Regions from separate parts of the Homo sapiens genome. Here all the other regions are linked to region 3. Evidence: promoter capture Hi-C in 16 types of primary human blood cells and fetal thymus (Javierre and others, 2016). All regions are on one chromosome and are shown on one strand. The core of a region is centred on a gene start or on the middle of the fragment in contact, and the rest is flanking DNA. Distances in the headings are between cores, read along the strand shown. Region 1 holds the start of NRIP1 (nuclear receptor interacting protein 1). Region 2 holds the start of USP25 (ubiquitin specific peptidase 25). Region 3 holds the start of C21orf91-OT1 (C21orf91 overlapping transcript 1).

Region 1 (4,524 bases), core at 160-2,659, 2.7 Mb after region 3:
ACCTACATATAAGAATGGAGTGCCTCATCGGCTCATTTGTCTTATGTAATAAGTGTTTTAACACGGGCATGCCGTTTCAGAATTTCGGGTGAGACTAAGCTGTACTTTAGCTTTTTTGTGTCAAGCAAAAACAATTTCAGCAACAACACTCGCTTCCCCTGGTAATTTTTTTCATGGCGAATTACTAAATGCTAGATGCTCAAGTCAAAAAGAAACCTGACATCTGGGGAGGTGTTGAGGGGGTGTTAATAGTTCTAGTGAGATGTCTGGGGAGCGTTGAGGATACGATTTTTCAAACAGCAAATACAAGGATAAGGGGAAATTATGGTTTCGTATGACTCTCTCCTCCTTCCACTTTCTCGTTTCACCAATCTGTGGCCCCCCCAATTTAGAGGCGGGTTCAGTGAGATTAGGCTGCAGGAAACCGAGAGGCTCCACCGCGCTGCCGCCCCGGCCTCGTGATGTAATTGTTATTTCTTATTCGGAGACCGAACCGAGGAGAGCTGCTGAAGAAGTAGCAGCCCTGCTCCTTTTCCCTTGTCTTGTTGGGTCAGATCCTTCCCGGGGATGATGCAGATTGGCTGACAGACTCCGCTGGAGACTTCGCAGTGACAAAGCAGCCGAGGATTAACCCTGCTCCTGGGTCCTACGTCTGTCCAGGGAGCTGAGCGGGGCGCTCCTCAGGTCTCCTTCCTAGTTTTCCTCCCAGAGTCGCTCCACACGAGTGCTGGGCGCCTACTACGTGCTGGGCGTGGGGTCAAAGTGACCCAGAGTTCGCGCCCGTGCCCCCCAACATTAAAGCAGGACACACAGATTACAAGGAGATAGAAATTGGGGGTGGGTGGGTGAAAGGGGGCCCAGAGAGCGCGTGTTGTGGGGTGAAGGGGAGGAGGTAGACGCTTAAGGCAGGCGGGGACCCTGGAGCGTCTGGGGCGCCCCGGCCCCCAGGCTGTGCCCAAACGGGAGCATTCGGCCTGGGTCCCAAGAGCGCTTTCCCCGGTCCCCAGGAGGAGCTGTCCAGGCGCCTGCAGCGGTCGCGGGCGGCTGGACAGAGCTGGGAGCCCGGGGGACGGCCCGGGCGCGCCGTGCAGCCCCTCTCTCGGGGACGCGGTCCTCTCGCTGCCTCCGGGTCTTGCAGCCCCGTCTGGGACACCCGGAGAGCAGGCGAGAAGGAAATCCACGAAACAGAGGGGGTTCCGCAGCTCCTGTGAGCCGCCCGGATCCGCGCGGCTTCCTCCTGACCGGGTGACAATGGGAGGGAGGGGGAGAAAAGGGTTAAGAAACTTGGCTGAAGAGCTGAATGGCGTGGGGCGGCGAGGGGAGGGACTGGGCCGCGGCGGACTCGGCGGCGGAGGGAGGAGCGCGGCTGCGGGCGGGCGGTGAGCGAGGCGCTCAAAGTCAGCCTCGCAGACATTGCAGCAGAGCCCCGAACTCGGGAGGCGGCGGCGGAGGAGGCGGCGGCGAGGCGCAGGGACGACCCGGCCCCACGCCCGCCCGCCACCCGCGCGCGCCCGTCCGCCCGTGGCCTCGCGTCCGCCGCTGCGCCGTGAGCGCCGCTGGTCGGAGGGAAGAGCTCGCCGGGGCGCCGGGCCAGGACGGGGCGGCAGGCGCCTTCGCGGACCGAGCCTGACGGAGCCGGAGGCTGGGAGCCGCGGCGGCCTGGGGTGAGTGACGGCCGCGGCCAGGGCGCCAGGAGTAGCGGCCGCCGGCGCCGCCGGAAACGGCCCGGGAGCGCGGCCCGCGTCGGCTCTCGCTTGGCTGGCAGGGCCGCGGGGGCGTCGGGGCGGCGGGGAGGGCGCGTTTCCGGGGAAATCCTGCCTCTGCTGCCTGGTTCGAGTCTCCGGGTTCTCGCGGGGGGCCGGGGCGGCGGGCCGGCAAGTTGTGGAGTGGCCCCGGGTCGGCCCGCCCGTCCGTGCCAGTTCTGGGCAAGGGGGCGGCCGTCGCGTGGCCCCTGAGCGGGGCCGGACTCGGGGGGCCGGGTCGGGGTTGCCCCCGCTCGCTTGCCCTCTCGGTCCCGAACCCCGGGCACCGCTCGCCTCGCCGCTCTCCGTCCTGCTGTCCAGCCGGATCCTGGGCGGCGCCTTTCGCCTGGGTGCCTCCCTGCTCCTTGCTCGCTGGATACCCGGCTGGGAAAGTGAATAGGAAAAGGGACAGCTCGCCCGGCCCCCACCCGACCCCGGGCCGCTCTGCCCGCACTCGCGGTCCCCTCCCGATGGCGAGGCTCACGGACCCGAGGCCTCAGCCATCATTTTACCAGGAGCCAGGGGCCGGCCCCCATTTAGGGTGAGCCCGGTGGAAGTCCGGGAGGCTGCCTTTTCTCCCTTCTTCTGTGTCCACCTTATTACGATTGAATATTGTTTTATGAAGGTTTCCGTGGATGTATTCTGCAGACCCTCCCATCCCTTCCAAAGTAGTTTCCCAATTTTGATCAGGAGTTGGTGTTCAGTCAGAAGGAACAAAGGAACCAACTGTGTCTTAGAGGCGGACAGGCTGGGAGTCTGTGACACATGTTGATCTCTGAAGCATTCCAGGAGTTTCTACCTTTTATCACGTCAATAATTGGCTGCTGAAGGTAGTAAAAGAAGTACGGAATGATAAGCACTTTTGCGTTTTAAAAATATTTTTTAATGGCACATTTTACTTTGGGGAAAAAAGACGTTCTTAGGCACAAGGATTTTTAAAAACCCAGTTGGTGGAACTGAGTTGGAGTTTGTTTCTGGTATTGTAAATGATTACATGTGGGATTGTGAAGGAAATTGTGTCCTTAGAGGAAGAGAAGCCATCTGTAGGTGTCCATAGTAAAAATGGTTGTCGGGTTATATGTGATGAATGCTCTTTCTGTTTCTTGGGGGAATTTGTGAAGCAAGGGGCTTCGGTAATTCATTCTTTAAAGTTATGAATTGCATTGAACCTGCTTATTAGTGAATCATAGGTTTAGTAAGTGGGTGGCATTATTCAGTGTTTAATCATCAGTTTTCCACCTTTGTTGAAGAGACAGTGAAATAATAGACTTTTTAAACAAATGGTGTTTCATCTGCCTGGCCCCTAAGTGTCGGTTGCCGCCTGGAGTATGTTGAAGTGTTTTTCACCTTCCAAGTAAGTGAGTTGCTCTGGTTTTGCCCGGCAGTTCGGTAACGTCGATAGGGTTTATTTGGTTCAGGGAGCACTGGCTTCATCACCTACAGTAACTTTTTTTCTGCCTGGGCATAGTTCCTAGAGACAAAGAAGGAGAATCAATTAGTGGAGCGGCTACTGCCCTGCAGGTTGTAGGATTGGTTGTTCTAGTCTGTTTCATACTCTGGTGGAGAAAGACCTCTTTCCAAACTTACCTTTAAAAGTGCCCTAGGAGTGTGAGTAAAATATACATCAGAACATAACAGAAAAAAAAAAGGACTGTTCGTTGTTGATTTTATTCAAATGAGTTAGTTGAAAAACCAGGTTTAATGCCTGTGGGAAGTTAGTTGAAAACCAGGTTTAATGCCTCTTTTACATGCATTTCTAAACTCTGCAGAACTTGGATTTTGCTAATTTTAACACCCTAAAATATTGTTAACTTTGCACTAAAGAAGTGTGTGAAGAGACTAAAGGCTTTTCTGACTCTTGCAGTTATAAGTGCAAAACATCATGATAAAAAATAACCTATACCACCACCTAGAGTCTGTTTGTTAGTTTATTGCTCATGAAGTTTGCTTAAATTGACATGTCTGTTACAGTTCTGATATAGTCGAAAATGATTAAGAAGTACTAGCTTTCAAAAGCCCGTCCAAGAGAACAATTATTTAAGTAATAAATAGCAAGTGCCACTTTAAATTATCCGTGCCACCTTTAGAATTGAAAATTATGACATATCAAGTTGAGTGGGCTATTCTCCAAAAGATGTTAATTCAGAAGATTTTAAAACGGAGTTTTCAGTTTGTGCGCCAAGGCAGTTCTGATTGCTTAAAGACTTCTGCGTTGTTATCAGAGATTCAAGAAATCTTCCCAATCAGATGCCATTAGAACTTTTTGAAGTCCAGATGAAACAAAAGCAAAAATACAGGAGAGCATTACAACTACAGAAATTCTGGAAATTCAGAAGTTAAGAGAGAACGCAGCCCATGACAGAGTTGTGATTCAGAGATATGAAGAGTAAAATCAATGTGAATTAAAGTGATAATCTGTTTTGCTGGTAGTTTATATGTGGTAAAGCAGTCTATTAAATGAGAGACCTTAGGGAGGCAGCTTTGTTGCCATGTGGCTTATCACATTGTCCATGGAGGAAGTAATGTTCCTCCTTTAAGTGGTGTAGCCTGAGAGAAAGATGGCCTCCAAGATCTTTAATTAAATACCAGTTGAACAGAAAGAACTAGAGCACTGTATTAATTCTGTCAAACATCACTATTTTAGAACATTGAGGACAACTAAAAATGAATTAACGCATATCTGAAAGCAGAGTTTGATAGAAGGTGACAGATGAGGCAAAATATGCCAATCTAATGGAACAAATAAGATAAGGAGATATGCCATCCTTGACTCTAGAAAGAT
Region 2 (4,361 bases), core at 705-3,204, 2.1 Mb after region 3:
ATTTTGGTGGAGACCGTTTTGCAAAATAGCAGGCCTGGTACACTACTACCTTTGAAAGACAAAATCGGTTCAGAAAGGATGACAACTAGCTATTCTTTCTCATTTAAGGGGAGAGAATAAAGTTTCATTAAGATGCCACACAGAGCACTGTAGGAATGTGAGGGTCGCTCTCAATACCTGGCACCGTCTGCTACGGGAAAACAATCGGCAGAAGGAAGTGGATTGAAGCCCGCAAACTACACTCTGCTTCCCACACGCAGCTGGGCTCTGGGCGCGACGCCCCCGAGGCGATGGGCAGGGGCCGGGGGTGACCGGGGAGGAAGCCCGGGAAGGCGGCGGCGGCGAGGCCGGGGCGCCCGGCCGCAGCGGGAGAGGACAGCCCGTCGGAAGGAGAAGTGGGGCCCGCCGGCTGGCGGACTCGCCTCACCTTCTGCGCCGCGCTCTGCTGCAGCACGTTCTGCTCCACGGTCATGGCCCCCGCGGCGGCGGCGGCGGCGGCGGCGGTGGCGCCCGGCTCCTCGCGCCTCCGCCGGCCCTGGCTGCCGCGCTCCGCCGAGCTCCAGGGAGCGGCGCGGACGGCCTGGGAGGACAGCGCCCCCGCCAGCCAGGCGCGAAGGCGATGGCGGCCGGCGTGCGCGGGCACCGCGGGCAGGCGGCGAAACGCCGACTGTGAGGGCCACGGCGGCCGCCTCACGTCTCCACGCGGCCCGCCTCAGCGCCGCTCGTCCGCGGCGGCCCGGGCCATGAGCGGGCGGAGGACGCCGGGGCACGGGAGAGCGCGAGCCAGTCGGGCGGCGTCACGCGTTCGCACGTTCCTTTGCTGCCGGTCCGCGGGCTGCTTTGGGGAAGGGAGAGAGGGGACGGAGGGAGCGGCCGCCCGGAATGGCGTTGTCCTCCTCCCTCCGCGAGTCCTCCTCCCTCCCCTCCCCCACGCGCCATCCCCGCCCCCGCCCGGCGGCTCCTCCCCCGCAGAGCCCCGCCCGCCGGCCGCCCTAACCCTACATTGTGACCCTCCGGGCGGCGGGGCGGGGCCGCCATGGAGCCCCGCCCCTCCCTGCGCGGGCCTGGCGTTCCCGGGTGGGGCGAGGGCGCGCCTGGCTGCCTGGCCCGGGAGCCGCCCCTGCGGCAGGTTGCGCGACGCTGGCGCTGGGCTTCGGGGAGCGCGACTGGAGGCCGGAGGGCAGCGTTCCTCCCTGCGCCCAGGGCTTGTCGGATCCCTAGCTTACCCAAAGCCTCCAAAGCAAACATTTCCCTCCATGCCCATAACGTCCCAAAACTGCGTAGGGTCCCGAACTCCGGCCCCTTTCTGTGTCACGCGTTCTCTCCCCTCGCCTTTCTAGGAATTTCACAAGCCTTGAACTTGCCTGAAGGGAAAAGTCAAATAAGCAAAGGGTTGCCAGAAATCTTTATGCTGGGAAGTACTTTTCTCCTTAACTAATCATTACGTAAATGAATATAGACATTTTCTATCTACCTTCATTCATTCGAATATGTGTCAGTCACTGCTAGGCTCTGGAAAAATAAAGTTTATCTTCCCAAGACTTAATATAAATGAAATAGGATCTATCTAGCAAACAACCTTACAAAAATATCACTGCCTAATGATACATAATTCTAATATCCCAGTTGCCAAATTAAGCAAACAATTAACTACCATGCATGGAATGCTTGACTATATATGGAATTGTAAGGAAAATCTAACATTAAGAAAGCAATCTCTAGCCACAAAAATATCTCGAGTTCCAGGAGCTAATCTGGGAACGGAGGTGAGAGTGCAGCAGTGTGAGGAGAGAAATTATCAATGCATATTGTCACAAATAGAATACACTTGAAAATCCGGGTATAATTTTTAATCCAATGACAAGGAAAGCAAGCTTGGCAAATGCTAATTGAAATAGTATGTGGTGTTATTTAATAATCATGGATTATAGTAGCTCTTAAGGCTTTGTAACAGTTCTGTGCACTTTACAACCATCTTTGTTCTGCAGCTCAGATGTCTGGTACCACCTGTTGTCACCTTTTCCTTGAAGCTTCATATTTGTTGACTCATTTGATATTTAACAAATTGCAAATCTTATTATATTAATATCCTATGTCTTTTCTAGAGGAAATGAAAAGTCATGAAACGGTTGGAAACAGAAATTTAGAAATACTGTCACATCTCTAATCTCACGTATCGATTTTTTTATAACTCTGAAGCCCAAGGAGGGTGACCTGTCAAAGAGAGCTTATCAAAACCCATTTTTCTTCATTTATAGATCAAAGTTTCTTCTTTTCTTGTTTATATGCTAACTTCATGTTTCTCCATATGAGGGTTTTGGTTTTTTGGTTTGTTTGTTTGTTTTTTAGAAATCAAGCTCATACATTTGAATTCAAGAAAATTAAATTTAACATAAAAATCTAGTAATCTAGTACCATGGGAGGAAAAATGTTGCCAGATACTAAGGTTTAATTTCAAGAATTTGGCAATACAACTTTTCTCTGAGTTAAATTTGTTACTTCCATACAGAAAAAAAAAGATGATCTTACAATAGATAATCATCAAATAGAGCTTTTATATGGTAGACCTATTTGCCCACTGAGACTGTTCATTTTCAGCTTACTTCTGAGGGTTTCCTACTTACTCAGCATTTCTTTAAATATTTTTAACTGTTGTACTGAAGAACATTGAGAAGAAAATTTCAAGTTTCCTCATAGGCATTCCTTTTTAGAAGGCTTACAATTGGGATGAATAATTAGAGAAATTTGAGCAATTGAGATAAATTGGCACACAAAACCCATCGCTGGGATTTCCTAACTCATTTTTTAAATTTGCGCCGTGACAATTGTGTTGTATGAGTCAGCTTTAATATGCATGTGTGTCGGAATTATATATCCTCAAGATATTATTTAATAACTTCTAAACTGCTACATTACTCTATGTTGTTGACATTCAGGTAAAAATGTTAAGTGACATATTTCATATAATATGAAATATTTTGTGTGTAACAATGCTGTGGTTTGAATGTATCCCCCCAAAAACGGTGTGATGGAAACTTAATCCCCAATGCAACAGTGTGGAGGTGGGCCCTAATAAGAGGTGATTCAGTTATGAGAGCTCTGACCTCATGAATTAATTAATGGTGCTATCACAAATGTGCAGTCCCTATCAAAAGGACAGTTTCCTTATAAAAGGACGAGTTTGGCTCCTTCTTGCCTCTTTCCCTTTTCCTTTCCTTCCCTCTCTCTCTTTCTCCCCTTCTCTTAGCTCTTCCACCATGCAATGATACAGGAGGAAGGCCTTCACCAAATGACGGCCCATCCATCTTGACCTTCCCTGCCTCCAGAACTGTGAGCCAACAAATTTCTGATCATTATCAATTACCCATTCATAGGTATTATGTTGTAGCAGCATAAAATAGACAAAGACAAACTGCAAGACTATTTTTCTGTTTTGGGTCAAAACGTTATTTCTAGCAATACTCAGTATTGTATTTTATATGTCAACTAAGAAAATTGGTATTCTTCCGCCTTAGGTATCTTTAGAAAGGGGTTAAAAATCCATTTCCGGATACCAAAAGTTTACCATATTGCCAAAACACATTTGTAGGACTTTTCTTTGTTTCCCCCCTAGCTGGTGTTGAGCTCCTGGTCTCAAGGGATCCTCCTGCCTCAGCCTCTGAAGTAGCTACCTGGATTACAGGCATGTCAGCAAAGAATTGTTGAATCCATGGAGCAGATTTAGACAATTTCCATTACAAAAGAGTGGTTTTAAATCTACTGCAATGAGGATCTGAATTATTTTCCTCCTTTAGGAGTGTTGGCATTCTGGGATAATTTTATTTCCACCAATAAGAAAACAATAAGCAGGCTGGGCACGGTGGCTCCCCTCTGTAATCCCAGCACTTTGGGAGGCCAAGGTGGGCGGATCACCTCAGGTCAGGGGTTCAAGCCCAGCCTGGCCAACATGGCAAAACACTGTCTCCACTAAAAAATACAAAAATTAGCCGGATGTGGTGGCAGGCACCTGTAATCCCAGCTACTCGGAGCCTGAGGCAGGGAGAATTGCTTGAACCTAGGAGTCGGATGTTGCAGTGAGCCGAGATGTGCCATTGCACTCCAGCCAGGGTGACAGAGCAAGACTCCATGTAAAAGAGCAAAAAGAAAACAATAAGCAATCATTTAAAGAGGAGTCTTCTATGATGTCATAATGGTACTATTTAGCAATCAGGTGTTCATAGATTACAACCTGCAAGAGTACTGCCTGCCTAATACATGCACAATAAAATGCTTATTGAATTAAGTGGGCAGCCATGAAGGGGAGAAAACAAATGTATTTGTGCTTTTGTGGTGCACATCTAACTCTAACTTCTCATTCCAAG
Region 3 (4,725 bases), core at 1-2,500:
GCCTAGGATGATCAGAACTGATATGCTTTGTAGAGAACAGAACTGTTTCCTTGGTATCAAATCAGTTTCATTGTGACACTTTGCCCAATGCATAGATTTCAGTTAGAGTTCTTGAAATATAAATCATAGCACCGGCTTTCTGCATACTAAAAATGAAAGTTTTTAAATCTTTTACAGAAGTTTTTGAAGAGTTAACTCACCAAGTGCAAGAAAAAGATTCTTTGGCCTCACAGCTCCATGTCCGCCACGTTGCCATCGAACAGCTTCTGAAGAACTGTTCTAAGTTACCATGTCTGCAAGTAGGGCGAACAGGAATGAAGTCGCACCTACCCATAAACAACTGACCTAAACAGACTTACTTCGTATGCCCTGCCCTTTATTGGTCTCCCAGACATGCAAACTTTGAAGAAGTTTGAAGAAAGTTGTGGTCCGTTTTTTTATGGTCATTAAATTTGCCAAACATAAGGCAGTATTTAACATCTTTGTCAAATAAAGCAGATCATTATACTCTAGTCTTCTAGGGCTAATCATTTTGGCTCATTTGGGGACTCTTTTTTCCCAGAATTACTAAACAAATTTTATCACATGTGACTACTTAAATATACTGTTACAGTGTCATTTTATTAAACATTTTAATTCACCTGTCAAAACAACAGATTAACTCCTTAGTGTAAACTACTAGAGATAATTTTTAAGAGGGAAATGGAATTCATATCACCTCTTATTTATTATGAGCAATATTTTAATATAAAAATTTTATATGTGAAAATGCTATTTTAGGTACTTTGCCATTCTCTTTATAAATGTGTATTTGAGTGGTTCTGTATATTTATTTACATTATCATGTGTGAATATGTTCACCCATATTTCAGGTCACTGCATTTTATTCTCTTAATACAATGTTTTCACAACGGTTACCTTGCTTTCCAAAGATAAATATATTTTGGATTAGAAATCTGAGTTGTTTTAATTTCTAATACCTCTTGTAAAAGAAGAATTAATAACTTTTTAAAGCAGTATTCAGGTAAATACAATACATTATTTTGTTTTCTAACAAAAGCAGTTCTTAGTTCAGGAAGAAAAGACTAATCTGGCTTCTATGTCAATTTGTCTCCATAGAAATGAAAGCCTCCTCTTGCTTCTTTCATTATTAGCTTCACACCAGTGACTGTGATGCATTAGAATTTGGACAGAGTAAGTCAAGCCTCACTTCCAATTCAAATATAATGTCTATCTTCAAATTGAGTGTGCTGTGAAATTGTTCTGTCTTTGAAAAAAAAAAGTAAGATTATTTTGTGTGCCACTTTGGGTAAAGTTTCAAGAATACTTAAACTGTCCAAATTGTATTATCACCATCATTGAACTTAGTGCTCAAAGAAAGCATTGTGAGGTATTTTTCTAAACTTTAGACTCTATAGAGAAATATAGGATTGTTCTACAGAAGAAAAGCAAAACTCCTAATTAAAAAAAAATAAACCTATGTATTAAGAGAATGTTCTCGTAAGTTGCCTATGATGCTTCCAAAGAGTTTTTATCTAACAGATTGTGCCAAACAGCTAGATAAATTTTAATAATGTATTACAGTAAAGGCTATAACCAATGCAGAATTAAAATGGGCTCTAAATTCTGTTTTTAACTCATGTTTAGAATGTACTTATGAGGTAGATCCTTGCTTGAAAGTATCTGCTGAAAAGCCCAGTAACGTGGCAGCTTCATGCATAAAGATATAAATGACATTTGCCTTAAATTTGGCAGCCTACCCTGGCTTGGGTCAGATTTTGTTGTTGAACACAAGAAAGTATTTAAGCAAAGAAACACTTCAGTTTAATTGAAAACAACTTTTTGTAATGCTGACGTGTTAAATTGGCCTGAGGGTATTAATTGATATCTGTTGATTTTGTTTTTCTTTGAAGTATAACATTACTTTTTGGAGGGAATTTTTGAAAGATGCTTTCGATTTCTCTCAATTCTTTAAGTCATGCAAAATGAATTTAAAATCCAGGGAGTATGGATGCATTGCCTTAGTTTTGATGAGCTTTAAATTAAATGTGTGCAATATCAAAATATTCAAACTTACAAGCTGGGTAAATACATTTCCTGATTAATATCTTAGTGCTTAATTGTTCCCACATTTTCAAATTTGACTTTACTCTTTTTTGGCGTAATTCAGTAAGATTGTTACCAGCCAGTGTGTTTGCACACATTTGGGTTTGTGTTTAGATGAGTTAGGGACAGTCATAAAAGTTGGGGATATGTTGCATTTGATATCAATAGTAGCATATTTCCAGAATATGAGCCATAAGTTGCAGTCCTGAATACAACAGTGTTATCCAAAGAAAGGAGTTTTCTGACAAATATACATAGCTTTGCTAATGAGTACGGAACAAGTGGATGAACGTGTGCATGTGCTAAGGTCTTAAGTGGGACTCTGATTTATTCCATTTAGATATTTCTACTTAAGCTCTAAAAAGGAGAGGTGCTCTTAAAAAAAACTTTGTGGTGCTGGTACTCACACTACTTTATTTGGATGAGTTCCTAGTAAAAAAAACTTTTTGTTGAAGTATTTTGCACAGCAGTTTATCCAAATGTTTGGTAAACTTATAATTTAGTCCTATGTTAGTTTTCTTAATCAAATATGCAATTACTGTGTATGCAAATATAAGTATCAGGTACAGAGTTGAGTTCTAACAAGAGAACATGAAATATCACAAATATTGTTTTCCACACTTGGCTATTCTCTACAGTTGTTAGTAATTTTTGAGAATGTTTTGAAGCATATCTCATGTACTACTGTTTAAAAAGTGGCAAAACAGACTGCCAGTCATCCATTACTAAATTTTCAGAGCTTATATGATTAAGGGGAGTGAGATAAGACAAATCTTTTTCACGTTCAGTTTTATAATTTGACACGTTAAATTGAGTTTTAAAAATTAGAAAAGTGTTTTTGACCACACAGGTTGTTCTCTTTAAAGTTCAGCCTTATAATGAAGCTAAAAATCAATTATGTTTTACTTTGAGATTATCATCTTATCCTTTGATCCTCATATTAATATCTAAATTAGTCTTTTTTAAAAGGCATGCACTTGAGACTCCAGTAATAGATGATTCAGGCAGCAGAATAGTGTTTTGTTGTGTCGTTGACTATGCACAATGGTGGAGCAAAGACACATTCTTAGTTTTTCAAAACACATGTTCATTTTACCACAAAGTGCCCATTTTTATATACATTTAAGGATTATTTTTTCAATGTCAAGTTCATGTTAGTGATTTCAGAAATATAGTCAAAATATATAGTCAAATATATCTTGACAGGCATCTTGAGATTTGGTTTTTCATTTTACTATATTTATGACTGAAAATGGTTTTGTGTTTTCTTTATGTTGTTTATATATTTTTTACCTTAGTGTTTACACTGGTAAGGCTTGTTAGTCCATTTTTGTAGTTTTTTTAAAGTAAGCTTTTAGATCTATTTGTGTTTTAATGTTTCCCAGTTTGGGTTTTGTTTTGTTTTGGAAGAATCTGCTTTCATTATTAAATTATAAAATGTAAATGCTCTAAAGTAGGAATTTTTAAAGAGTAAATTATTTGTGTAGCTTATTAGGAGGTTCAGGTTAGTGACCATAAAGTGGGTTACTTGTACATGAAAATTTGAAATGGTACCATGTAAAATTCTTCTATTGTCAACTTTTTCTGATGTATGCCAGTTCATTTACTGACAAATGTTGTTACTAAGTGCTTATTAAGAAGTGTAATACGCTATAAAAAAGTTAATACTTTTTGTTCAGATGTAAGGCAAAGATAATTGATGCCGTTTCAGTGTATGATTGTATTTTTAACTTTTACGTTGGTGGGAGTAACTATTTGAGGAAATTTGTGGTGAGAATTAGTAAGAGATAAAACCCCCAACAGTTTATTCTTACCAAGTAAAGTTTTGTGGTCATGGGGCAGGGAAGAGTTTATTTACCAGAATACTAGAGCCCTCACACAAAATAAAGGTAACTTGGAGGAGGGCTATAATGCTTGCATCTCAGTATTTTCATTTCACTTCATCCTTTCATAATTGCCTTGATTATGGTGCAGTCTAACCTATTAAGCAACTTCTGGCTATGGTAACATTGATATGAACCATATTATATCAAGTCTCCAAAACATCTAGTTTGTTAACATACACTTTCCCTGTTCTTTTTAGTTTGAGTCCACATTACTAATACATTTTAATAATATTTAATTATTTCACAATTTTAAGTTTACCAAAGTAAACAAAAATTCATGAAGATGAGTATTGCCCTCTCCCAAAAAAGGTTTAAAGATTAGTTGAACTTCCCTCAACTACACCTAAAGCAAAGGGGAATTTTAGTAAGTGTGTGTACCTTGTTTCTTTCAGACGCATCTAGAATGTTTTTCTTTCACCGTACCTCCAAAAGAGGCAATTTAGAAAGTATTAAGTAGTGACTTTTGTTCAGTTCCATTTTGTGTGTGTGTGTGTGTGTGTGTGTGTGTGTGTGAACCTTGCTTTAAAACAGTAGCGTATACTATGGTCATTGAACTTAATCTCTCTGGTGTTAGAAATTTACTTTACAAAATTGTGTTAAGACTTTTGGAAAAAGAAAATGAAACTGCTGTGGTAAAAACCAAGTTTGTTTCAAAAAAGTAGGCAATTATTTGGCTGTTATATTTTCTTTGAAAACTGCAATAATTTATATATTTGTATTGCTCTGCTTGGGA

The links. Contacts are between HindIII fragments. The CHiCAGO score rates a contact against its expected background, and 5 or more counts as called.
Region 1: the fragment with the promoter of NRIP1 here is called in contact with the fragment with the promoter of C21orf91-OT1 in region 3 in 1 of 17 cell types (activated CD4 T cells); the score reaches 9.0 in activated CD4 T cells.
Region 2: a fragment that was not itself captured here is called in contact with the fragment with the promoter of C21orf91-OT1 in region 3 in 3 of 17 cell types (total CD4 T cells, activated CD4 T cells and naive CD8 T cells); the score reaches 7.4 in total CD4 T cells.

What each region holds. Positions count from the first base shown.
Region 1 is chr21:15,061,885-15,066,408 of GRCh38, reverse strand. It overlaps NRIP1 (nuclear receptor interacting protein 1), which reads left to right and starts at 1,409. Exons shown (of 4, transcript NM_003489.4): 1 at 1,409-1,664. RefSeq lists enhancers at 508-557, 3,008-3,057 and silencers at 888-1,067, 1,318-2,177. The HindIII fragment of the contact is 10,218 bases long and covers 1-4,524 here.
Region 2 is chr21:15,726,505-15,730,865 of GRCh38, reverse strand. It overlaps USP25 (ubiquitin specific peptidase 25), which reads right to left and starts at 884. Exons shown (of 26, transcript NM_001283041.3): 1 at 428-884. The coding sequence starts at 472. RefSeq lists a silencer at 320-1,279. The HindIII fragment of the contact is 156 bases long and covers 1,877-2,032 here.
Region 3 is chr21:17,789,034-17,793,758 of GRCh38, reverse strand. C21orf91-OT1 (C21orf91 overlapping transcript 1) reads left to right here and starts at 1,250. Exons shown (of 4, transcript NR_038871.1): 1 at 1,250-1,282. C21orf91 (chromosome 21 open reading frame 91) reads left to right here. Exons shown (of 5, transcript NM_001100420.2): 5 at 178-4,725. The coding sequence ends at 344. All of the region lies in intron 2 of LOC124900465 (a long non-coding RNA gene), which reads right to left. The HindIII fragment of the contact is 3,892 bases long and covers 1-3,459 here.